Regions from separate parts of the Homo sapiens genome. Here all the other regions are linked to region 1. Evidence: promoter capture Hi-C in 16 types of primary human blood cells and fetal thymus (Javierre and others, 2016). All regions are on one chromosome and are shown on one strand. The core of a region is centred on a gene start or on the middle of the fragment in contact, and the rest is flanking DNA. Distances in the headings are between cores, read along the strand shown. Region 1 holds the start of RPGR (retinitis pigmentosa GTPase regulator). Region 2 has its middle 28 kb from the start of DYNLT3. Region 3 has its middle 14 kb from the start of DYNLT3. Region 4 has its middle 61 kb from the start of DYNLT3.

Region 1 (3,023 bases), core at 268-2,767:
ATACGCAAGAGACTAGCCACTGTGGACAACTTTTTGAGAACCACTGTGAGGCATCTCAGTTCCAACTAATAATTGAGTTGGGAGACTAGGATCTAGAACAGACTCTGAGTTTCCCCAGAATGAATTACTTTAACATTTTAACTGTTTTGTCTTGGCTCCCCTGGCTTCCCTGATACCCTCATCCCAAGCCAAGGTTTGGTGGCTCTGCTCTGGCCCTGTAATATCTACTGTCAATTTATATGGTCATTTTGTTTACTTTCCTGTATGTCTCACTAAATTGTGAACTGCAGGCCAGGAATGTCAGTTCCGGCCAGGAGCATGGAAGAAAACATACATATTTCAGTGAAGGTATGATTCTGCTCAAACCCAGTGTTTTTTCAAAATGGTCGTGACCTATTAGTGGGCCAGAAAATCAATTCAGTGGATCACGATCAGCATTTTAAAAGAATGCATTATCAAAAAGGTGTGTGTGGAATCTAAGTGGATAGAACAAGGACTGCTTCACCAGACATCTATTTCTGTTACACGGTATATATGGAGTATCGGGTCACAATGTCAAAAGTATTTCTAACTATGGAGCTCAGGAAAAAAAAGGCTAAAAAACACTCGCTAAAGGGTCCCTCTTCTCCCTCTTTGTCCAATTTATTTCCTGTATCCCCTTTTACCCCACAGCCCTGATCACTCACTCTTTACTGCATTCAATACATAACCGGGAGCTCAGGACCTCCAAAGTGCACAAGTCTGGAGTCCGCACTTTGGGGAGTTTACAGAAAGTGTCCCTCCCTGGCCGGGCGCGGTGGCTCACGACTGTAATCCCAGCAATTTGGGAGGCCGAGGTGGGCTGATCACCTGAGGTCGGGAGTTCGAGATCAGCCTGACCAACATGGAGGAACCCCGTCTCTACTAAAAATATAAAATTAGCCGGGCGTGGTGGCGCATGCCTGTAATCGCAGCTACTCGGAGGCTAAGGCAGGAGAATCGCCTGAACCCGGGATGCGGAGGTTGCGGTGAGCCGAGATTGCGCCATTGCACTCCAGCCTGGGCAACAAGAGTGAAACTCCGTCTCATAAAAAAAAAAAAAAAGTGTCCCTGCCTTCAAGAAGCTCATCAAGAGCTTATTTAAAAAGCATACGAAAGACAGGCACCCTCTTTCCCGTTCTCCCCCATCCTGTTCTTCCCGTCCGGTCCTCTGCCCTCAGTCATTCGCGGGAGCGCAACCAGCGATCCCGCCCCAGTCCGGCTGCCAAGCCTGGGGCCTGTCCCCCTACAGGGCCGATCCGGAGGCGGGGCCCGGCCGCCCGCGGACCCTCCCTCCCGGCCTTCCGCCACCGGCGCGGGCGCAACTCACCGGGCATCAGCTCTTCCGGCTCCCTCATGCCACGGGCAGTACGGGCAGCCTGCGCCGGGGCCAGGAGGCTGTAGAGGACGGTTTGGTCGGGGCTAAAGCAGCTACTCCGCACCGACGCGGGCCGCGAAAGCCCCCAAGTTCCGCATGGCGAAACTCCGGAGATCAACTACAACCGCGCTCCCGGAAGTCAACAAACAGCCGCTACGGGCAACGGGGGCGGAGCTTGGGAATGCAAGGCGGGACAGGCGCCGTTGGGGAGGGGAACGGAGGCCGGGTGGCTGGTAAGGGGCAGGCTCAGGCACAGCGGAGGGGCAGTAGAGACCACGCGCCCTCTGGCGGCCTGGAGCAGAGAGGCGGCCACGCCGCGCAGTGATGCTGTGGAGTCCGCGCCCTTGTGCCGTTGGAGGTCCAGGCGCCGCAGGGACCCTGCCCATGAGTGGCAAACGTCACAAATCCCATACTCCGTGACATAAGCAAGCATCGACACACAATTATGACACTACTAGTAATAGTGACCAGCTGGAACATTAAAGGAGGTAAGCACTCTGCTAAAGATATCCCCAGCATCTAAACCAACATCTGGCCTATACTGAATGCTCATTACGTATTTATTGGACAAATGAGTACTATTACAACCCTGTAAAGTGGTTAATGTTACCTCTGTTTAAGCATGTGGGCAGCTAGTCCAGCTAGTCCAGCCTGTAGTCAACAAAAGTAAAAGCTGAGGTGTATATGGTCCACTACTCACAGAACATACACAAAGGGGTAGCCCAACATCATTGCTCTAGAATTTGCTCAGCGATGTTATATGATGCAGGGTTTCCCATGCATCAACATTTGGCTATCATGAAATAAAGAAGCAAAAAGCCATCTTCCAGAATGAGCAGATTTACGTACGTTTGGTAGTTGTGGACATGGGCCCTAGAATCAGACACAATTGGATTCAGGGATCCCTGAATTACTCTTGTGTGTTACCAACACTTTCTCAGGAAGTTTGCATTAACATGAAGAGGGGACATTAAACTATTAGTTACACAAATAATCATTTACTTACAAAGCAAAGTGGAGGTTACTAAGGAAGTGGTTAACAAGAAGCGTTGACCTGGTGTAGGAGGTTAAGAAAGGCTTATCTGAAGAAAGAACATTAAATCTAAGAACTGGAGAAAGATAAGCCAGGAGGGGGAGAGAGCTCTTGGCAGAGAGTAAATTGTGTATAAAGGTTTGTAAGGAGCTTGACTCTTTCCAGGAACACCAAGAGGCGAGGCTGGTTCCTAGCGAGGTGGCAAGGTCTTGGGCCTATTAAGGATCTGAGATTTTATCCTAAAGACAATGTGAAACCACTGAGAAGTTTTAGGCAGTAGAACAACAGGACAGGATCAGTTATGTGTGTCCCTGAAATCATTCTGCCTGGTCTAGATGCTTTGTAGAGAATAAACTGGAGCAGTGAGAAGGGTTCAGAGGCTATTGCAGAATTTCAGACATGTGGTCAGGATGGCTTGGAGTACAGTTCATTGGTGCCAGAGAGGAGCAGGCAGATTTGAAAATATTTTAGGTCTTAGAATCAACAGGAAATGGTTTCTGACTATTGACTCCTAGACAGTGCTGGACTACCAAATAGTTCTTAGAGCAACAGCAAAGATAGGGCCCTAAATTATTTTGAAAAGGATTTGATATT
Region 2 (3,023 bases), core at 297-2,796, 510 kb before region 1:
TCTGCTTTCTGAATGGTATTTAAAAACTCAGTTATTTTCAGAAATGAGGAAGTCTTGATCTGCTAGATGAAGGTCGGCTGCAGGTGGTGTTTATTGCTTTATGATGGCAACAAACCGTAAACCCATCACTCAGTAAATATTAAACTGGCTGAATGAATCCAAAGCATGTCTAACATACAGGAAAAACACAGCCCTGTTAAGCAGTCTTGAAACCCACAAGCTACATGGAAAACACAGATTCAACTACATCATAAAAATTCAGACAATTCTGGTTCAGGATGAAGAATTGATCCTAAGCAATTTTCTTTCTCTCTCTCTCTCTGAAGACTCTTAAATGGCATTTTAAAAATAATAATGGGGCCAGGCGCAGTGGCTCACGCCTGTAATCCCAACACTTTGGGAGGCCGAGGTGGGATCACGAGGTCAGGAGTTGAAGACCAGCCTGACCAACATGGTGAAACTCCGTCTCTACCCAAAATACAAAAATTCCCGGGCATGTGGCTCACGCCTGTAATCCCAGCTACTCAGGAGGCTGGGGCAGGAGAATCGCTTGAACCCGGGAGGTGGAGGTTGCAGTGAGCCGATATCGCACCACTGCACTCCAGCCTGGGTGACAGAGTGAGACTCCGTCTCAAATAATAATAATAATAATAATAATAATAATTAGCATGTCTTTTAATTAGCATGTTATTATTATTATGGTTGCCAGGTGCAGTGGCTCACACCTGCAATCCCAGCACTTTGGGAGACTGAGACAGGTGTATCACCTGAGGCCAGGAGTTCAAGACCAACCTGGCCAACATGGTGAAACACCATCTCTACTAAAAATACAAAAATTAGGTGGGCATGGTGGTGGGCAAATGTAATCTCAGCTACTCAGGAGGCTCAGGCAGGAGTAATCTCTTGAACCCGGGAGGCGGAGGTTGCAGTGAGCCGAGATCGTGCCACTGCACTCCAGCCTGGGTGACGGAGTGAGACTCGGTCTCAAAAAATAAAAAATAAAATAAAAATAATAATGATATAACCTGTGTAAAGAGAACAGAAGAGGACTATCGAGAAATAAAAATTTTTACCATGTTCCTAGAAGCTGGATAATTGATAGAGAAGTGGTAAATTATGAATTAATTTGAAAGAAATAAAACTTAGAAGTATTTGAGGAAGGGACAAGGCTCAGGAAGATGCCTATCTCCCTGAAGAATTCCAGAGAAATTAGAGGCATGGAAATACCAGATACAAAGAAGGGGAAGAGTGAAACATGGAAATGAAGAGTCAAGTCTGTCATCCAACTGACGGAAGTTTCAGAAAGAGAGTATAGAAATAGCACGTGAGAGAAAAGTGTCAGAAATTATAAGATACTTTATCTGAGCTAAATAATACAAGTCATCATACGGATAGAGTCCACAGAGTAGCCATCACATTGAAAATAATTTCTTATGTCTAGACATATTATTACAAAATTTCAGAACATCGAGGTTCAAGTAAATTTGCAACAGCTTCCAGAAAGGAAATATTAAAGCAAAACAAAACAAATCAAGACACAGCTAACCCATAAAGTAGCAAGAATCAAACTTGTTTCAGCAACACTGGAAACTAGAAGTCTATGGACCAAGCCCTATGGACCAGGGACCACATCTGAGAGAGAAAAAGGATATGCCATCTGTTTATGTACATATGTCCATGGGAAGTTTCATAGAAACTCAGAGTTCTGCTGGAAATGATATTCAACCTAGAAGTCTTTTTTTTTTTTTTTTTTTTTTTTTAGATGGAGTCTCGCCCTTTTGCCCAGGCTGGAGTGCAATGTGCAATCTCGGCTCACTGCAACCTCCACTTCCCAGGTTCAAACGATTCTCCTGCCTCAGCCTCCCGAGTAGCTGGGATTACAGGTGCCCGCCATCATGCCCAGCTAATTTTTGTGTTTTTAGTAGAGACGGGTTTCACCATGTTGGTCAGGCTGGTCTCAAACTCCTGACCTCATGATCTGCCCACCTTGGCCTCCCGGAGTGCTGAGATTACAGGTGTGAGCCACCGTGCCCAGCCTCAACCTAGAATACTATACTTGGCTAGCTTAGCCTAGGCACTCTGCTAAAAAGCAAAGTTCCAGGCAGGGATTAAAATACTTATATTTTGCTTGGGAGGTATAAGCCTAAGGTGGTGAGCATGAGAAACCCAGTAAGTGAGGCATGGGAAGATGTGAAGCATCACCGCACAGCCACCAATTCACAATGAGCCCCAAAGAACCATACTCAGCATGTGTGTGTGCTCAGTACAAGGGTGTACCCTTCCTATCTGTTTTTCATTGGTCAAGATTAACTCCATGATACAATACACACTCTCACCCCCCACCCATATACATTTCTAGGTTACATCATCCAGCCTCAGTGACAGGTCAGGAACTAGACCTTACACTTTGCATTGGGACATTACATCCAAATCGGGAAGAAGAGGGGCAACCCCACACAGATGGGGCTCTGACCATAGAGGGAAAGAAGGTACACTAAAATTAACCTTACCTAAAATTGCATCATTCTTGAGAAGTCATTGAGGTTGTATTTCTGAAAACCAAGGAAGTAATCTAAAATGAATGAAGAAATAAGACCTAAAAAGCAATGGCTTTACCCCAGGAGAGCAAAGAATGTTCTATGATTATGGCTGGACAGTTGGCTCTGAGAACAACTATTTCAGACAGAAGCAGGGGACAATGCTCCAACAAGATCTACAGGAACAGCTTGAGCATATGGTGAAAGCATTTGGTGGGAGTTTTAAAAAAGAATCTATTCAAACATCACTCTAGAAATATTCCCTTTGAGTGGTATAGTCATGATATTAAATTCGTAGAGAAAGAAAAATACTCCTAGCACACCACTCAGGTCAATGTTGAAAAGATGTCTTTCATAATAATGTAAATGTGTATTGATTTTCTAATTTTAAAATTAATTAACAGACAAATTACAGAAGACTTAGACTATTACAAAATAGAATGTAAAGTTATCAACCATGACAATATAAAAGCACAATGGAATGGG
Region 3 (3,023 bases), core at 212-2,711, 470 kb before region 1:
GATCTACAATGGGGCAGGGAATAGAAGATATAAATGGAGCGGGAAGTTACTGTGCTGAGATATCCTTTCTTTCATTTCCAAGGAATTGATCACTAATGTAGATATTTGAGGAGAAATGTATTGACAATGAGGATTGCTATGCTGTAATACTAGTCTTTGGAGAATTGAAAGGAATAGGATTTTAACACTGGCTGCAAATCAGAAGCACAGGATGAGGTGTTAAAAAAATTTTTGTGCTAGACCCCACCCCCTTGAGATTCTGATTTAATTGTTCTGGAATCAAAACTGGCATCAGTAGTTTTTCAGAAGCTTCCCCAGGTGGGTGATTATGACATGTAGTCAGTCAGGGTTGAGAACCCTTGGTGCAAAATCTTTTCTTCCCCTTCAGATGTCATTACAACAAGGTAAATTCACTTTTGCTGGACAGGCTTAAACATAGTTCTGCTGGATGTTAGAACAATACATTCTGCTACTTCTTGGGAATGTTTTTGTGTCCTATGGGTTTGTCATTTATTCATTCATTCATTCAACAAAGGTTTACTTAGCACTCTCTATTGCCAAACATTGTGTTAGAGAGGTAGTCCTTAACCAGGGCAGGTTTTTACCATTGCCCCCACCTCCACCCCAGGGAGATTTGGCAATGCCTGGAGACATTTTGATTGTCATAAGCAGGGTGAGACCTACTGGCTTATAGTAGTTAGAGGCCATGGATGCTGCCAAACTTCCAACAATGCACATGACAGTCCCCTACAGTAAGTTATTTGCCATAAAATGTCAATAATGCTGAGGTTAAGAAATCCTGTATTAGAAGATGGGAATGAACAAGAAAGATTGCCCATCTCTATGGAGTTTATGATCTATTAGGAAAGGCAGACAATACACAAACACTATATATATATCATATATATATATATCACATATATTTGTCATATATAGATATATATCATATATACATATGATATGTACATAATGTGTATTATATGACAGCAGGAACATCGCCATCTTGGGCAAGCCCTTCATTCTAAAGTTCACCTAATAAAAAACTGCCTAAATCCAAAGGGCATCAGCCTAATGGCTAAGGTCAGCAAGACCATAAACCACAAATAACATCTCCAACCAGAAACATTCCAAACTCCTCCCCGACGAGAGACATGCTAGCTCCGAGATCACCTCCCTTTGGCCGGAAAGATGCCAGCCTCAAGATAAACCCCCTCCAGCCGGAAAGATGTCTGTCCCAAAATAAACTCCCCTCCTCCCAGAGACATTCCAACCCTGCCATAAATCCTCTCCCTCACACTGAAACATTCCAAGCTAGTGATAAGCCCCCTCACCCTAAAACAAATATATTCTCTTAGTCTGTAAGAGAAAGTGCTCCTGACCAAAATTGGCCAGAAACCCCTCTCATATTTTATCTAAAGTAAAGGTGTCTTTAACTGCCAATCTGTGTTTCATGTTTCTTTCCTCTTTCTTTAACTCTTACATTATATATATATGTGTGTGTGTATATATATATATGTGTGTGTGTGTGTATACACACACATGACGAGGTAGCTGTAAGTGTTATAAAGAAGACGTAAGAAAAGTAAGGGAATAGAGAGTGACTAGGGTGAGGATACTATAGATAAGGTGAAGAGGGAAGAGTTCTCTGAGAAAATGACATTTAGATAATCACTCAAATAATGTAAAGAAGTTAGACAAGAATTTGAAAGTTACATTAGAAGTTAGATTTGAAGTTTGACGTTACATGAGAGAGGACGATGGATTTTCTCAGAGTGTGGGGAAGGAAATAAATTAGAAAAATATGGTAAAATCTCAGGCAACTCAATTGCGTTTTGTGGTCATAATTTTAAAATGAAACCTATCATAGATGTTGCAGCCTCTGGCCATGTTCAGCTCTTGGAAGCATATGGAGAAGAGTAGGGTTAACCCGGATTGGGGCTTTTCCAAGTGATTTTGACTGAGGAAGAGAGAATCATGGCCTTCAAAGGCATTTTCAGGGGAGTGATTGGTCTGATAGCTTGTGGATTCTAAGCTCGGTAAGTAGTGATGGACAGCGAAAAAGTGATAGGATCATTGAACTGTAGGTCAAAATGGTGTCAGATAATTACTGGGGTGAAGGTTCTAGAAAAAGTGAGATGGAAGCAAAGAGAGTAGGGGTCAGAAAGTTGGATGATTGAATATGAAGTATATATACATATTTTTTTTTGTTGTTGTTGTTTTTTGAGACAGGGTTTCTCTCTGTCATCCAGGCTGGAGTGCAGTGGTGTGATCTCAGCTCACTGCAACCTCTGCCTCCCAGGTTCAAGTGATTCTCCTGCCTCATCCTCCAGAGTAGCTGGGACTACAGGTGTGCACCACCCACCCAGCTAATTTTTGTATTTTTAGTAGAGTTGGGATTTTGCCATGCTGGCTAGGCTGGTCTTGAACTCCTGACCTCAAGTGATCTGCCCACTTCGCCCTCCCAAAGTGCTGGGATTACAAGCATGAGCCACTGCATCTGGATGAACATAAAATATTTTTGAAGCCAACATCTAAGCAGGAGTGAGGATTCCTCTTCTTCTTGGTGCCTCTTTTATATCCTACTGTGGGCATTGTAGCCAGGAGAGTGGTACAAGAAGCTTTGTATTATCAGCTGGGGGACGTTATTATCAGGTTCCATGATTTTGACTTGATATCTTTCCTGGCTTTTTCATATATGGGGTTGTGAGTATGAGTGAATAGGGACAACTGAGTACAAATCCTAGAGTACAGTGCCATGATAAACATACTGGGCAGGGGGAAATAAGCAGGCACCAAGGAAAAATAGGAAATAAGACTTTTCCATATAGGTTGATCCCTTTTCTCCAGACGTTCATAGATTCTATATGAGACATCTTATATCCCTTCTTTTTTTTTTGCCTCCTGCCCTTGTTTCTGCCATACAATTTTATTATGCTTTAGTATTTGTTCATGTAAAGATGAAATTACATTTGTGCCTCAGGCATGCTCTGCCTGCATAATCACAATAAGAATGTTTTTGGCTA
Region 4 (3,023 bases), core at 351-2,850, 420 kb before region 1:
AGACAACCAGTGAGGACCTATTCTGTTTCTTATAAGGATTTAACAGTGCAAAACTACGTGTTAGTTTCTCCTCTAAGGTTAGGGACCTCCTTCTGTTAACCTCTTTTAGAAAAATCATTTTGGTGGTGGTGGCGGGGAGATGTTTCCCCTTTCTCTATCATTAAATGCAAAATGTTTCTGTGACTATTAAGTAAATACTAATTATTGTTATTTTTGCTTAAAAGGAGCAGAGGAGAGCATCTCCCAGAATGCATGAATTTGTGGTTCATATTGATAACTGATTGCTTTACCATCAAATTGTTTGGTTTGATGCAATGTTAACAAGTGGTCTTAATTCACAACACAGAAGTATTCTATTCCAGAAAACAACCCTGCTGATATGCCTGCCACCCCCACCCCAAAATGCACACACAAAACCATGTTTTTGTCTTGCTTTGTGGGAGAGAAAAATGGATGGGGTATCTTTTCTGGCAGTTGATTAGTCCCCGATCTTTCTTGAATTGTCATTTGTTTTATAACCTATAATTATAGAAAAGAACCCTCCTTGAAATAAAATTAATAAAACCTTACATGTTTAGTCAGATCACAGGAATAATTTTTTAGAGTTGAGTGGAAGCTTCCATGATCCTCTTCCAATGTCGTCCCCGGGGAGCCGTTAAGCTTCCCACTTCTCTGATAACATAACTCCTCTACTCTACATACCTCTATCTTAGCTCTTACCACCTTATGATTCTAGGTTTACATATCCATCTTGCTTAGAGTAATAAAATTTATTTGGAAGCAAGGGTAATGCCTTATTAATCTTTGTATCCCTGGAGCCTAGTAAAGTAAGGTCTGTTGAAAAAAAATGAATGAATAAAATAATTTGGCAGTCCAGATTAGGTTTACCATTCCTTGAAATCCACCTGTGCATTCTTTCTCTTCACTCCTAAAAGATAAGTCATTTAATTCAATGGTACTCAAAGTGTGGATCCTCAGAATACACTGTGTTCTAAATAAATGAGAGTTTTCTATATTTGAAAAAATCTATATATTGTTGTGAACTTTAATATTTAATTTTTTATTTTTTATTTTTTATTTTTTTGCTGAAAGTAACAGAAAAGCCAACTAAACATGGCTTGTAATACTACAGAAGTTTAGCTGGGCGCAGTAGCATGTGCCTGTGGTCCCAGCTACACAGGAGGCTGAGGTGGGAGGATCCCTTGAGCCCAGGATTTTAAAGCTGCAGTGAGCTATGATTGCACCACTACATTCTAGTTTGGGTGACAGGGTAAGACCCTGTCTCTAAAGAAAAAAAAAAAAAACAAAGAAAATAGAGAAGGCTGACAGTAGGTAATAACTGGAGTTGATACAGTGACCCAACAATATCAGGGTTCTGAGTCAGTGTCTTACCCTCATGGCTTCAAGATGGCTCTAACAGCTCAAGACACTCGGTCCTAATCCCATGTTCAATGACAGGAAACGGGGTGGAAAAGGTCAGAGTATTTTTCCTCATGCAACTTTCTCATCAGAGAAAAAATATCCTTCCCCAAATTTATCTAACAGAATCCTACTTTTATCTCATTGGCAATATCTGGGGCACATAGCTGCCCTTAGTGGCAAAGGAGACTGGGAAAGTATCCGTTTTTTCAGCTTCTATAGTGGAAAGGCAGCCAGGGAGAGGCAGGTAGGTGATGTATTTGGGGAACTGACCAGAAAGTCTTCTAGACTGTCAAGAAAATAAGTCTTTTTGAACCTGTGATCGTATCAATGTTCTGGCCAAGTAAAATACTAAATATTAATCAATGTAGCAAAAGCACACATTTAGAGCAGATTTCCCCTCTCCACATGGGTATATGGTATTTTAAGGGTGCCAAATCACTTTTATGGAGTGTGCTAACTTTTAGAGACTGCACCTTGCCTGTGTGTGTGTGTGTGTAATCTCATAGGGTTTCTATTAAGTATGGATCAAACCCTCAAGTTCCTGGAAAAGAGTAAATATTCAGTAAATAGTTGTCCTTTGAGTGGAGTGTTGAGTTTGGGAGCTTCAAAACTTCACAGGGACATGGGAAAGGATTTAGTGAGGAAAAAAAACTGATGAGTGGTTTGCTGCCAATGCCTTGGAAGGCTGGTTTACAGCATCTGAATGTCTTTAATTTGGATCCTAGGAGCCTGGAGGGAAACTTAACAAGAGGGAAAAGAAGAACCTAGGGAGAGGTAGTGGCACTGACAACTTGGTTCAACAGATTATCTTTGGGGACCTTCTCTATACCTGTACTGGGGAAGATGTACTACTGCCCCCCTCCCCCACACACAGTTCAAAATGGTCCCTAGCACACACACACACACTAAAACTTAAAAAGTTGAAGCATGAAAAGAGTGTATATTATTGCCCGCTTTGATTTAACTTTCTCTTTTCCAGTAGAATATTCTCTCAAATACTTACAGAAGGTAGTTTTTGGACATCATGGTGGGAGATCAGATAAGCAAGTATCGAGAGATTGAAATTTAATGATTACAATTGTCTTAGATTTCTCATCAATGAAAAGAATGGAGTAGATCAAGCTTGTCCAACCTGTGGCTTGCAGGCCACATGCAGCCCATGACAGCTTTGAATGTGGCTCAACACAAATTTGTAAACTTTCTTAAAACATTATGAGATTTTTTTTCAATTTTTTTTTTTTAGCTCATCAGCTATCATTAGTGTTAGTGTATTTTATGTGTGGCCCAAGACAATTCTTCTTCCAGTGTGGCCCAGGTAATCCAAAAGACTGGACACCCCTGGAGTAGATTAGCAGTGGTATTCAAACTTTGTTGCACATTAAAAATTACCTGGGGAGGTTTTTTTGTTTGTTTGTTTTCTGTTTTTATTTTTTTTTTTGAGATGGAGTCTCACTGTTGTTGCCCAGGCTGGAGTGCAATGGCGTGATCTCAGCTCACTGCAACCTCTGCCTCCCAGGTTCAAGCGATTCTCCTGCCCCAGCCTCCCAAGTAGCTGGGATTACAGGCACCTGCCACCACACGCGGCTGATTTTTGTATTTTT

The links. Contacts are between HindIII fragments. The CHiCAGO score rates a contact against its expected background, and 5 or more counts as called.
Region 2: a fragment that was not itself captured here is called in contact with the fragment with the promoter of RPGR in region 1 in 1 of 17 cell types (neutrophils); the score reaches 5.5 in neutrophils.
Region 3: a contact is called between a fragment that was not itself captured here and the fragment with the promoter of RPGR in region 1, in 2 of 17 cell types (naive CD8 T cells and neutrophils). The highest score is 5.5, in naive CD8 T cells.
Region 4: a fragment that was not itself captured here is called in contact with the fragment with the promoter of RPGR in region 1 in 1 of 17 cell types (neutrophils); the score reaches 6.6 in neutrophils.

What each region holds. Positions count from the first base shown.
Region 1 is chrX:38,325,992-38,329,014 of GRCh38, forward strand. It overlaps RPGR (retinitis pigmentosa GTPase regulator), which reads right to left and starts at 1,518. Exons shown (of 15, transcript NM_001034853.2): 1 at 1,349-1,518. The coding sequence starts at 1,376. It also overlaps a transcript of OTC not described here. RefSeq lists a silencer at 1,207-1,456. The HindIII fragment of the contact is 17,506 bases long and covers 1-3,023 here.
Region 2 is chrX:37,818,134-37,821,156 of GRCh38, forward strand. No RefSeq gene overlaps it. Among named protein-coding and RNA genes, the nearest start is that of DYNLT3, 28 kb to the right of the region's middle. The HindIII fragment of the contact is 7,319 bases long and covers 1-3,023 here.
Region 3 is chrX:37,859,729-37,862,751 of GRCh38, forward strand. No RefSeq gene overlaps it. Among named protein-coding and RNA genes, the nearest start is that of DYNLT3, 14 kb to the left of the region's middle. The HindIII fragment of the contact is 2,309 bases long and covers 308-2,616 here.
Region 4 is chrX:37,906,832-37,909,854 of GRCh38, forward strand. It overlaps a transcript of SYTL5 not described here. Among named protein-coding and RNA genes, the nearest start is that of DYNLT3, 61 kb to the left of the region's middle. The HindIII fragment of the contact is 1,884 bases long and covers 659-2,542 here.